Linked DNA regions of Homo sapiens: regions 2, 3 and 4 are each linked to region 1. The links are contacts of gene promoters, found by promoter capture Hi-C in human tissues and cell types (Jung and others, 2019). All regions are on one chromosome and are shown on one strand. Each heading gives the region's core, a stretch centred on a gene start or on the middle of the fragment in contact. The rest is flanking DNA. Distances are from core to core; before and after follow the strand shown. Region 1 holds the start of SCN4B (sodium voltage-gated channel beta subunit 4). Region 2 overlaps UBE4A (ubiquitination factor E4A). Region 3 overlaps CD3E (CD3 epsilon subunit of T-cell receptor complex). Region 4 has its middle 12 kb from the start of TMPRSS13.

Region 1 (2,882 bases), core at 333-2,832:
AGGTAAGCCAGAGGTGTGAAGTGGGGTAGTTTAATGACTGGCTGAGTTTGAATTCCTCAGTGATCCTTTACCCCTGCCATTGCCACCATGGGGACCTGGGCTGATCTGAGATGGGATGAGGGGAAGTAGCATGGAATGGCGCTGTGCCCACCCTGTGAAAAGGAGCCTCAGGCGTCACTAAGGCCCACTTCATTAAGGTCACTGTGAAACCAGCATGACATCTGTGCCAAGGTACAGGAGAAAACAAGGGTGTCTTCCATCTAGCGGTACAGAGGTAAATAAACATCCCAAGTACAAGAAATACTCTCTCCCCTCTTCACCACCAGGCACCAACCTGCTAGATCTGCACACAGTTTACATTCGCAGAAACAGTAGCCACTTCCCTTATAGGGTTCTGTCTCCCTGTTTTCAGCAGAAATACCTACACCGTGTGTCTTACCCAATGCAGGGAGCTGCCAAAAGCCAAATCTGACCAATATAAACAGGAAGAGATGCCGTTGCCAGAGATGGAGTCGGCTTACATTAAAGTCTGGCTATGATTTATGAGGAGATTACATCCTGGATGAATAAATATCATTCCCTAATCTCTTGGAGTTTGACACTCAAAACTCTCATGTGCATATTAATAGATATTAATAATGCTTCTTCCTCCGTGTCCTCTGGACATGTCTTCTCTGTCTCCATATTCACTTCAAAAATGAAGAGCCAGGAGCAGGTCAAACAGGTCTTCCCTACGGAATCTCTTTGTAGGAAGAGAGACAAGGCCGTTCCTAAAGGGCCTTGAATGATCCCGCAAGCCCCTCCAGCCCCTTCCAGCTTTCAGGTGCTGCTGTAGGGAAGGCAGTGGCTCCTGAGGGAGGTACAGGGCAGAGGAGCAAAGCAGGAAAAGGGCCCAGGAAGAAGGGGACTCCCCCACCCCCAACTGGTGCATGCCTGGTGCCTGGGAAACAAGCAAACGGCTCTGGGCCGGGATGGAAACCACCATTCCAACAGTCACACGTGCAACCCACCTGGTATCCCCTGCACTCAAGGCACGGACCCCCCTCCTCCAGCATCCTGAACCTCTGAACTCTGGAGACCCGCGCTGCAGCCCCAAGATCCAGCTCCAAATACCTGGAGCCGAAGGTGCCAAGGACAGCAAAAAAACTAATCCTGAGACTGGCGGGCTGATGGGGTAGAGAGGGACGCACACGGTCCCCAGGGAGCACAGCCTATGAACCAGGCAGGAACCAGGCAGGAAGCCGGCGGCCACCATCCTCATTCCGTGCCGCACTCCAAAGCCCACCCCATCCAAGGCATCTTCCTTCTCGAGTGTCCCCTTCTTTGGGGGTGGGGGGAGGCAAGAGAAGAGACCAAGCTGGGGCTGCCTTACCCAAAAGCCCAGTGCCCAGCCATCTCGCCGGGGCTTTGCCTCCGTCCCCAGCCCCGGGCATAGTCCTGTTCTCTCCGGAGCGCGCGGGGGTCGCGGGGATGGGATACTGGGCACAGCCGCGCTCTCCGCCCGAGGTCGGCGTTCGGCCACAAAGCTACCCCGGAGCTCTGCGCCGCCGGTCGGGGCTCGGGAAAGTTAGCGGGCAGAGAGCGAGAGGAGGGGGAGGGAGGGAGCGGAGGGGGAGGCGCGCTCGCCCGCTGCTGGGAGCCGGCTGCTGGAGCAACGGCGGGAGGGAAGGAGTAGGAGGAGCCGGAGCAGGAGCGGGAGGAAGACGGAGCGAGCGCAGCGGCGAGCGAGGCTGCGCCTCTGCTCTGGAAGCGCTCCAGCCGCAGGAGGGGCGGTGGCCGCCGCGTAGGCCGGGGAGCCCCCGCCCGCTGCGCACCCTGCCTGCCGCACCCCGCCTCGCGGTCCCGGAGCCCCGGGACCACGCCGTGCCCCCAACTCCCTCTCCAGTGGGGCTGGGCTGCTGCGGCTGGCACTGCAGGGCCGGCCTGCAGCCACCCGCATCATCCCATGCGCTGAGCTGCCAATTAGGAGCATAGTTCGGGGGGAGTAGAGGTGGAGCTTTTCGGTTGCTGGAAGACTGTTTTGCTTTGCTTGGGGGAACACGGGAAGGTTAGCGGCTCCCTCTCCCAGGACCGCCAAGGGACCGCTTTAAAGTCCGCAGCGGACGCTGCCGCAACGGGTGGGCGTGTGCGGGCTTGCCCACTGCAGCTTGCGCCTCCTCGGTGGCGTGCGACATGGCGCGCGTGCAGCCTCGGGACCCGCTCCCGCCACCTTCTGCCCCATCGCTCAGCAACTCCGGCGGTTGTTTTAGGAAGCCCGGAACAGAGCTTTCCCATTGCAAACTGCCCCGGCCCTCCCTTCCCCCACCCCCACGCCACCCCGCCCCACATTTCTCCATGGACCCCTTGGAAATCACCACGCTCCAGGTTAGGGAGCAGGTTGGTCCGCGCCTGGTCTGTGTCCTGCGCCCCATTTCACCCTCCCGCTGCACCCCTGCTTCTCATTTTTCCTACCTAGGCCGTCCCCCTCAGATGCTGCCTTTTCGCCCTCCTCCAACTCTCCTGTTTTCTTCGGAACGGCAGACTCCCTCGGCCTCCCTTTTGGGGTAGGGGTGGAGGAGTCCAGGGTGACAACCAGGTCAGAGGGCTGAGGCGAGGCTGTGAACGAGTAAGCCTTTTCCCAGACAGGCCCAAGTGAAAGAGTTTCACCTGAGCGGTGCTACTTGGGCTGGTGGTTCTGTAAATGAGTCGATCTCCTCCTCAGCACCTTTCCAACCATCCAAGACCCTCCCTGCATCACAGGCCCTCTTTACTGTCTAGGACTGGTCCGGACTGGGAAGCCCGCTCCCACTTCATGGTCTGACTTCTGCTGCAGGCACACCAACGCACCGCCTTCTTAACGAGGGGTCTCTGGGTGGACTTCGGCGTGATCACGGACCCCTTGA
Region 2 (2,852 bases), core at 13-2,512, 230 kb after region 1:
GAGAAGTAAACAATGGCTAAGCATTCAATAGAAACTTAAGTGCTCACCGTCATATTTGGTAAGCTGTCAACTCAAGAGTTAAATGATGTACCCTGCATCACCACCCCACCCCCCGCCCAGCCGCACCAAGAAACTGACAAACTTAAAACTGCAGAAGTGGATCCTTTTTTTTCCTGTAATATGGTTTAGGGTGGATTTTGATTCTTATGTGGAGAGAACAGAGTCATAAATTTGGAGTTAAGCTTATCTGCTCATCTTGCTTTTTGCCCATTTTGCAGAATGAAGAATCCCCACCTGAGGGCCAAACTAGCAGAGGTGTTGGAAGCAGTGATGCCCCACCTGGATCAGACCCCAAATCCCTTGGTATCCAGTGTGTTCCACCGGAAACGTGTGTTCTGCAACTTTCAGTATGCACCCCAACTTGCAGAGGCTCTAATCAAGGTTTTTGTGGACATCGAATTTACAGGTAAAGCAGTCATGAAGCTGAGCCCAGAACTGGGAAGCTGATACCAGTGGAGTTTCATAGTTTGATCCGTATTTGGATATCAAAGAAATGTCAAGCCATTACTTATTGAATACCTACTATATGCCAGGCTTGATGATAAGTGCTTTTTTTTTTTTTTTAACATTATCCCATTGTCACCATTGGAAAAGTTTCACTCTATTATCCCTGTTTTATTTATTTTTTATTTTTTAATTATTCTTGTTTTACATATGAAGACATGACTGCCCAAAAGATCAGTTTGTCCATGTCATAACAAACTACCAAGTGGTAGAATCAGGTCTGTGTCACCTAAAGAAATCTACATATTCAACACCCTTATTATGTTGCATCATCAAATCAGACTCAAATTAGACTATTTGGGTCTTTATATTTCTCTGCCTTAAAATTACAGAATAGTGCATAAAGAGGCAGTGTATTGGTTGAGAGATTCTTTTATCTTAACCAGACTATCTAACTCTCCAACAGTCTAATGGTTCGATTAAAAATACCAGCAGGCGGACAGGCACAGTGGCTCATGCTTGTAATCCCAGCGTTTTGGGAGGCCAAAGTAGGCAGATCACTTGAGCTCCTGAGTTTGAGACCAGCCTGGCCAACATGGTGAAACCCATTCTCTACAAAAATACAAAAATTACCCAGGCATGGTGGCAGGTGCCTGTAATCCCAGCTACTTAGGAGGCAGAGGCACGAGAATTGCTTGAATTCGGGAGGCAGAGGTGGCAGTGAGCTGAGATCGCACCACTCCAGCCTGGATGACAGAGCAAGAAATCCCTCTCAAAAAAAAAAAAAAAAAAAAAAAACCAGCAGGCAACATTCCCTCTCTATCTAACCCTGAGCCCCTGTGTTTGTTTAAACAGTACCCTGTCTCAATCAGTAAATAAGATATGTTAAGAAGTTGTTGAAGACCATTTTTTAAAGGGATATCTACCATCCAATGATAAATACAACTAACATTTAAAGAGGCATTTAACATTTTACTGGCCGCCTTTCCATATTTGGATTCTGGTTTTTTTTAATTCGCTCACCTATCAACCTTAGTTTCCTCATCTATAAAATGGGTCAAAGTGATGATTAAGTGAAATAATGCATGTAAATCTTTATAATACATAAGAAATTGTATAATAAATCATTGCAGTTATCTCGTTATGTGACCATACAACCAAAGTGTTGTAATGGAGTACAATTTCTGTTTTATTTCTGAGGAAGTGGAAGCTGAAGAAGATTAAGAGACTTAGATTAAGCAGAGCCAGAATGAAAACGTAGGTCTTTTGACTCCAAATCCTACACTCTTCCTTTATTATGACCCAGCCTGTGGAGCTCTAGTAATACCTTTGGTATTTCAAAAGCAGTATAAGCCTCAGATTTTTAGCTCCTGACCTGATTTTTCAGAGTAATCAAGAACCTGTTGGCTACACAGTTTGGGATATTGTCTGTGAAGAATGTGGGAATTGCTTAGTGTCCCGTCCTGCACATGGCTTTCACTGCCATAATGGCCAGCCCTGAGCCCTCATTTAAAGCCTGAGAAGTACTCATGTTTGGATATGGAAACATTTGTTTCCCTTAACTTTTATTTTACAGCTTGGTACTTGTCTCTTGCAGAGTAAGGTATCCTTTATCTCTGTCTCCCCCTTACTTCATCAGTAAGGAAATGAGCAAACACTTGGCGATAACTCTAGGCCTTTAGAAACTCCAGGGCAGATTTTGTTAGTAGCCTTAACACACTCAAAAGCAAATGACTACAAAGCAAATGGCTACACATAAGCATAAACTCTTCCTCTTATGGCACCGCCTTTGCTGATATTTCGCTCTTGCCTTACTCCAGGAGACCCCCATCAATTTGAACAGAAGTTTAATTACCGCCGTCCCATGTATCCTATCCTAAGATACATGTGGGGGACAGATACCTATCGGGAGAGCATTAAGGTGAGAGAGTTTTTGATGAAACCTGTTGCTTTATATAAGCCCTAATGAGTTGTAATTCAGTACTAAAATGGTTTTCTTGTGGGCTGGGACTTACAGGATTTGGCTGACTATGCCTCTAAGAATTTAGAAGCCATGAATCCCCCACTTTTCCTCCGCTTTCTTAACCTGCTAATGAATGATGCCATCTTCCTTTTGGATGAAGCCATACAGGTAAAAAAAAAAAAAAAAAAAAAGATTTAACTTCTCCATACCATCAAATCATCAGCAGTACATACATTTTACCTTTTAATCATAATAGAGCAGTCCTTATGCCCCTAGTACCAGACTTGAACACCAAAAATTTGTGATTAGTAGTGTACCACCAAGCTTGTCATTATAGAGCTTTCTAGTTCATTCCATTAGAGACCAAGATCAAGGGTCATTGAAG
Region 3 (2,710 bases), core at 84-2,583, 160 kb after region 1:
TATTATGAGGACCAAATGAGTAATTCATTTAAGGCACTTAGAACATTATCTGACATAAAAGGCAGTAGGAGGGCCGGGCATGGTGGCTCACACCTGTAATCCCAGCACTTTGAGAAGCCGAGGTGGGAGGATCACCTGAGGTCAGGAGTTCGAGACCGGCCTGGCCAACATGGTGAAACTCCATCTCTGCTAAAAATACAAAAATTAGCCAGGCATGGTGGCAGGTGCCTGTAATCTCAGCTACTCAGGAGGCTGAGGTAGGAGAATTGCTTGAACCTGGGAGGCGGAGGTTGGAGTGAGCTGAGATTGTGCCATTGCACTCCAGCCTGGGCGACAGAGCAAGACTCTGTCTCAAAACAAACAAACAAACAAACAGACAGTAGGTGAATTTTAGCTATTAATACATGGAAAGCATGCTGACTATAGATGATAAGCATTAAAGTTTACTGAGCATGTATGTTTTAGGCATTGCTCTAAATATTTTACTTGAATTTCCTCATTTAATTCTTCCAACACCCCTACTGTACAGTTAAGGAAACAAAGCCTCAAATAAATACAGAAATAAACAAAAATAAGTAAACAATCCAGTCCTGGGGATATAAATGCAGATTTAGGCCAAGTGCCATGGTTCATGCCTATAATCCCAACACTTTGGGAGGCCAAGGCAGGAGGCTCGCTTGAGCTCAGAAGGTTGAGGCTGCATTGAGCAAAGATTGTGCCACTGTACTCGAGCCTCTGTGGCAGAGAAAGACCCTGTCTCTGAAAAAATTAATAAATAGAAATTTAAAAATAAAAAAATTTTAATGCAGATTTATATGATACCGAAGTTCATTTTCTCAACCATTATGAAATACTGTTTCTGGATATGTATAAAATCTTTGTGAGCACACATATCTTTTTTTAACTTAACTTTCATTTTAAATTCAGGGGTACATGTGCAGGTTTGTTATATAGGTAAACTTGTGCCATGGGGGTTTGTTGTATAGATTATTTCATCACCCAGGCATTAAGCCTGGTACCTGTTAGTTATTTTTCCTGATCCTCTCCCTCCTCCCACCCTCCACCTTCTGAGAGGTCCCAGTGTGTGTCATTTCCCTCTGTGTTCATGTGTTCTCATCATTTAGCTCCCACTTCTAAATGAGAACATGTGGTATTTGGTTTTCTGTCACTGTGTTAGTTTGCTAAAGATAATGGCCTCCAGTCCCATCCATGTTCCTGCAAAGGACGTGATCTCATTCTTTTTTATGGCTGCGTAGTATTCCATGGTGTATATGCAGCACATTTTTTTATCCAGTCTACCACTGACAGGCATTTAGGTTGATTCCATGTCTTTGCTATTGTGAATAGTGCACAATGAACATACGTGGAGCACATTTCTGTCTAAGCACAGACATCTAGACCCTTGTGTGAGCATGAGTTAAGTCTAAGCTCTGCTACTGAATTTGTGCCAATAAAAGTTGTGAGCAATTTTCTTTACATTTTTTTCAAACAAACACACCCAGCAGAGTATAATGTCTATGTACTTTATTTATGATTTCTAGTTCATTTAACATGTCTAAGAAACATCCGTGTTGAAAAATTATTTATAAATTAAAATAATATAAACTATCTACTGTCCTTATACTCAACTCCCAATTATAAGCAGGTGGAAAAACCTGGAGAATGTTTTGTTTACATTCTGTGCAGTCTTTGTCAGAGGGCTGCCTGAGCAACTGGGTCAGAGTTTAGTTCTGCTCTGGGAGTAGCAGGACCTCAAGAAGGAAAGGAGGAAAGGAAGTAACTTTTTCTTGAGCACCTGCTATGTGTCATTCACTTTCACCTTCATAATCCATTTAATTTTCGCAAAAACTTTGTGAGGTTGGTGTTTTATCTCCATTTCCCTGATAAAGAAGTTGAGGTTCAGCAAAGTTAAATGACTTGCCCTCAGTCACACAGACTAGGGCAGATCCAGGATTCAAACTCAGGGCTTCTGACTCTTGAGTCCAGAGCTCTGTCCCTGACAGCAGCAGCACTGCCTCTCCTCTCTTCCAGCTGTTATGTCCAGACTGTAGCAGAACCCAGTGTTCCAGCCACAAGTTTTCCAGGAAATAATAAAGGACTCCTAGCTCCACCTCCCAGGGCAAAAATGGCTGCTGTGGGAAACACAGGCTGGACCTACGAATGGCATTAGTGGTTTATTAGTTGATTTCAGTTGTCCACACTAATAGGCCTCCCTCTAACAAAAATAATTGAGAGCTGATTATGCTCAGATATAATGTAAAGTGAAGCCACTTTTTATTGGAAGAAGCATTCCCTCAAAACGTGTAGAGTATTTCACATTATTTAAAGGCAAATAGAGAGAAAATTATATGGAATAAGAACAAAGATGTTTCTTCTCTATTATGAGGGACTCAGTTCTGAGAAAGGATTTTAAATTGTAAGAAATAGGTAAGTCCACGAATCAGTGATTCAGTGGTGTGGAGAGCTTTATTTCTGAGAAGGCCAGTAGCGCTCCCTTCTGACAAGCAAATCTAAGACCTGGATGACAGATGACTTCCTGCATTTGGTTGGTTCTTTTGTCATTCATATCTATCTGTAATACAGTTCTGGCTAATTTAAGAGGATAAGCTTGAAGACCTCTGGAATTTTTCGGCTTTAGGACTTTAAGGCTTTCTGAGCTTCAGTAGATCTAGATCTAGGAGCTCATGCTGGTATATTCTGAATCCGATGT
Region 4 (2,700 bases), core at 87-2,586, 210 kb before region 1:
AGATCTAGCACAAATCTAGGCAATCAGTTATTCAATAAATAAGCCTTTATTGAATCTCTACTATGTACCAAACAATAGTTGCTTAATAACTTAATTGCTTCTTGTGGTCTTCTCATCACAAAGAAAAATTACTGTGTCCTATAAAATAACCCTAATTGAATTAATCACAGCTCTACTCTCATGAGATGGTTCTTACATCACACATACATTCTTCAAAGTTAACTAGAAGGAGAGCCTGGATTTCTAGAATTATAGATTTAAGGAGTATGGGCAATGGATGGTTGAGACCTTGGTCTCTGAGTCAGGCAGACCTGGATTTGAATACAGGCTCCACTACATGGAAGGCCTGTGACTTGGAGCAAATAATTGACTTCTCAATCCTCCATGTCCTCCTCTGTAATCCAGGCAGGAGAACAGGATCTGCCGTATAGGGATGTGGGTATGAAATGAGATCGTGTGGGTAGAGCCGTCACACAGAGTAAGTGTGCAGCGGATATTAACAATCGGACGCGCAGAACATGGGAACTGGAAGGAATTTCAGAGATCCTCTCTTCTGAGCAGTTGTTCCCTTAAACTTCTGATTCCAGAGCAGCCCTCTGACATCTTGCGGCAGGGTATTTGAGAGGCCAGGATTCTAAAGACCCACTTCCTGTGCTTGGTCTGTCCTCCTAGGCCTCAGCCCATGCCTCAGAGTCTGAGGCTGCCCCAGGCTCCTTTGGTTCAACACTGAACCACAGGCTGTGGCATAGGAGTGAGTTCAGAGCCTCAAGGCTAACCCCAAGTTTAACCAGCCAACCATCTTCAGCCCTGCCTGGACCCACCTGGGGCCCACTTGCTCTAGGTTCCAGTTTTGGGATGAGGAGTAAGGAAGACCAGAGAGTCCTCCTGTGCCACCACCTGATCCTCTGCTCAGCACCAGGTGCCCTGGCTGTCCACTCACCCCCAGTGCCTGGCAGAGCCAGTTCTCCCAGTCTGCACTGGGCCAGGGCTGGTGTGAGGCAGAGCAGCTGAGTCACGGCCCCTCGTTCAGTTTAATTACCTATGTGTGCAGATGACACACACAGAGGGGCTAACGAGGGTAATTACTCCGGGTGGGGTGAGCCCAGCTGACTAAGAATGCTTTGTTCTAGATGCAGAGAGCTGGGAGAACATTGCCAGAAGTGCTTCCTGAGCCTGGACCTTGTCTGGCCCTCCAAGACCCCTTCCCACCATCTCCCAGCACTTCCAAAGGCCAGGGAGCTGAGGTCCTAGACGGGGAGGGTGCATGTTCACAAATAGTATGAGTTGCCACCTGTCAATTGTGCATTTCTAGGTCCAGAGACCAGCTCATGGGACAAGGGCCACCTGCTGTGTCTCCTCTAGAGCCAGGAGGCTATCGGAAGGGGCAGATCCATTCATTCATTTCACCATAAAATTTTAACAGCTGTATTGAGATAGAATTTACATACCATACTGTTCACCCATTTAAAGTATACAATTAGATGGTTTTTGGTATATTCAGGGTTGTGTAAGATTGACCATCACAATAAACGTTAGAACATTTTCATCATTCCCAAAAGAAATACCCTACTCTTTAGCACTTACTTCCCCAGCTTCCCTCCCCCAAGCCCTAAGGCAACCACGAATCTACTTTCTGTGCCTGTAGATGTGTCTATTCTGGTCATTTCCTGTAAGTGGACTCATGCAGTGTGTGGTCTTCTGTGGCTGGCTCCTTTCATTCATCATCATATTTTCAAGGTCCATCTGCGCTGTGGCTTATGTTGGGACTCAGAAAACAACACCTCAAAATGAAGACCTCAGAAACAAAAGTTTTTCTCTGACCTGCTCCTGCCCTCCTGTTTCTCAGTCCCATTCTCCCCCGAGGCCAGCCGTTGAGACTGGAATCCCTCTTTTCCAAGGTGGGTCATAGAAACCCAAACTCCTTTTCTCCAAAGCCAGCCATAAAACCTAAAAGTATCAATCTCTCTCCCCAACTCCACACCGCCAGTGTAAAAACTGGCCATAAAACATGATGTGACCTACCTTACCTGACTGTAGTTCATTAGACCCTCATACCCAGAAGGAAGGAACACATGCTCAAAGGGGTCAACAAAAATCTAGATGGACAGCCTTGCTGGATTTCCATACTCACTCTGTTAGCATTAGATCAGACCCTTTTTGTCCAATCGTATTTCTCCACACAGCTGTCTATACTTTGTTGAACCTAAGCATAAAAATGGACAACTTCCCCTGTATCTTTGGGTCTTCATTCTGAAAGCTCCTGTGTCACCTAAAACTATGGTCAAATAAATTTATGTACCTTTTCTCCTATTAATCTGCCTTATGTGAGTGATTTTCAACAAAACTTCAGAGGGTGAAGCAGAATTTTTCCCTTGGACTTGACGCTTGTATCAGTACTTCATTTCTTTGTATTGTGAATAACTGTGGATAACACTCCATTGTGTGGATATGCCACATTTTATTTATCTATTCATCAGGTGATAGCCGTTTGAATTGTTTCCCCTTTTGGGCTATCATGAATAATGGTGCTATCAACTGATGTGCAAGTTTTTGCATGAGCTTATATTTTCAGTTCTTTTGGGGATATCCATAGGAGTGGAATTGCTGGGTCATATGGTAACTCTGTTAACCTTCTGGGGAAATTTTCCACAAATAATTTTGAGAGCCTCCTATATGCAAGGTCTGGGCTAGGTGCTGGGG

What was found. Contacts are between HindIII fragments. The study calls those that stand out against the background at their distance.
Region 2: a fragment that was not itself captured here is called in contact with the fragment with the promoter of SCN4B in region 1 in 5 of the 25 tissues and cell types used here (dorsolateral prefrontal cortex, heart right ventricle, mesenchymal stem cells and 2 more).
Region 3: a contact is called between a fragment that was not itself captured here and the fragment with the promoter of SCN4B in region 1, in 1 of the 25 tissues and cell types used here (lymphoblastoid cells).
Region 4: a fragment that was not itself captured here is called in contact with the fragment with the promoter of SCN4B in region 1 in 2 of the 25 tissues and cell types used here (lymphoblastoid cells and thymus).

What each region holds. Positions count from the first base shown.
Region 1 is chr11:118,151,241-118,154,122 of GRCh38, forward strand. It overlaps SCN4B (sodium voltage-gated channel beta subunit 4), which reads right to left and starts at 1,583. Exons shown (of 5, transcript NM_174934.4): 1 at 1,373-1,583. The coding sequence starts at 1,433. RefSeq lists an enhancer at 2,201-2,701. The HindIII fragment of the contact is 20,039 bases long and covers 1-2,882 here.
Region 2 is chr11:118,382,311-118,385,162 of GRCh38, forward strand. UBE4A (ubiquitination factor E4A) reads left to right here. Exons shown (of 20, transcript NM_001204077.2): 13 at 279-466; 14 at 2,325-2,425; 15 at 2,522-2,635. The region is part of intron 3 of LOC100131626 (a long non-coding RNA gene); the gene reads right to left. Among named protein-coding and RNA genes, the nearest start is that of ATP5MG, 18 kb to the right of the region's middle. The HindIII fragment of the contact is 4,714 bases long and covers 1-2,852 here.
Region 3 is chr11:118,309,223-118,311,932 of GRCh38, forward strand. All of the region lies in intron 4 of CD3E (CD3 epsilon subunit of T-cell receptor complex), which reads left to right. Among named protein-coding and RNA genes, the nearest start is that of CD3E, 5.8 kb to the left of the region's middle. The HindIII fragment of the contact is 5,427 bases long and covers 1-2,710 here.
Region 4 is chr11:117,940,514-117,943,213 of GRCh38, forward strand. No RefSeq gene overlaps it. Among named protein-coding and RNA genes, the nearest start is that of TMPRSS13, 12 kb to the left of the region's middle. The HindIII fragment of the contact is 6,208 bases long and covers 1-2,700 here.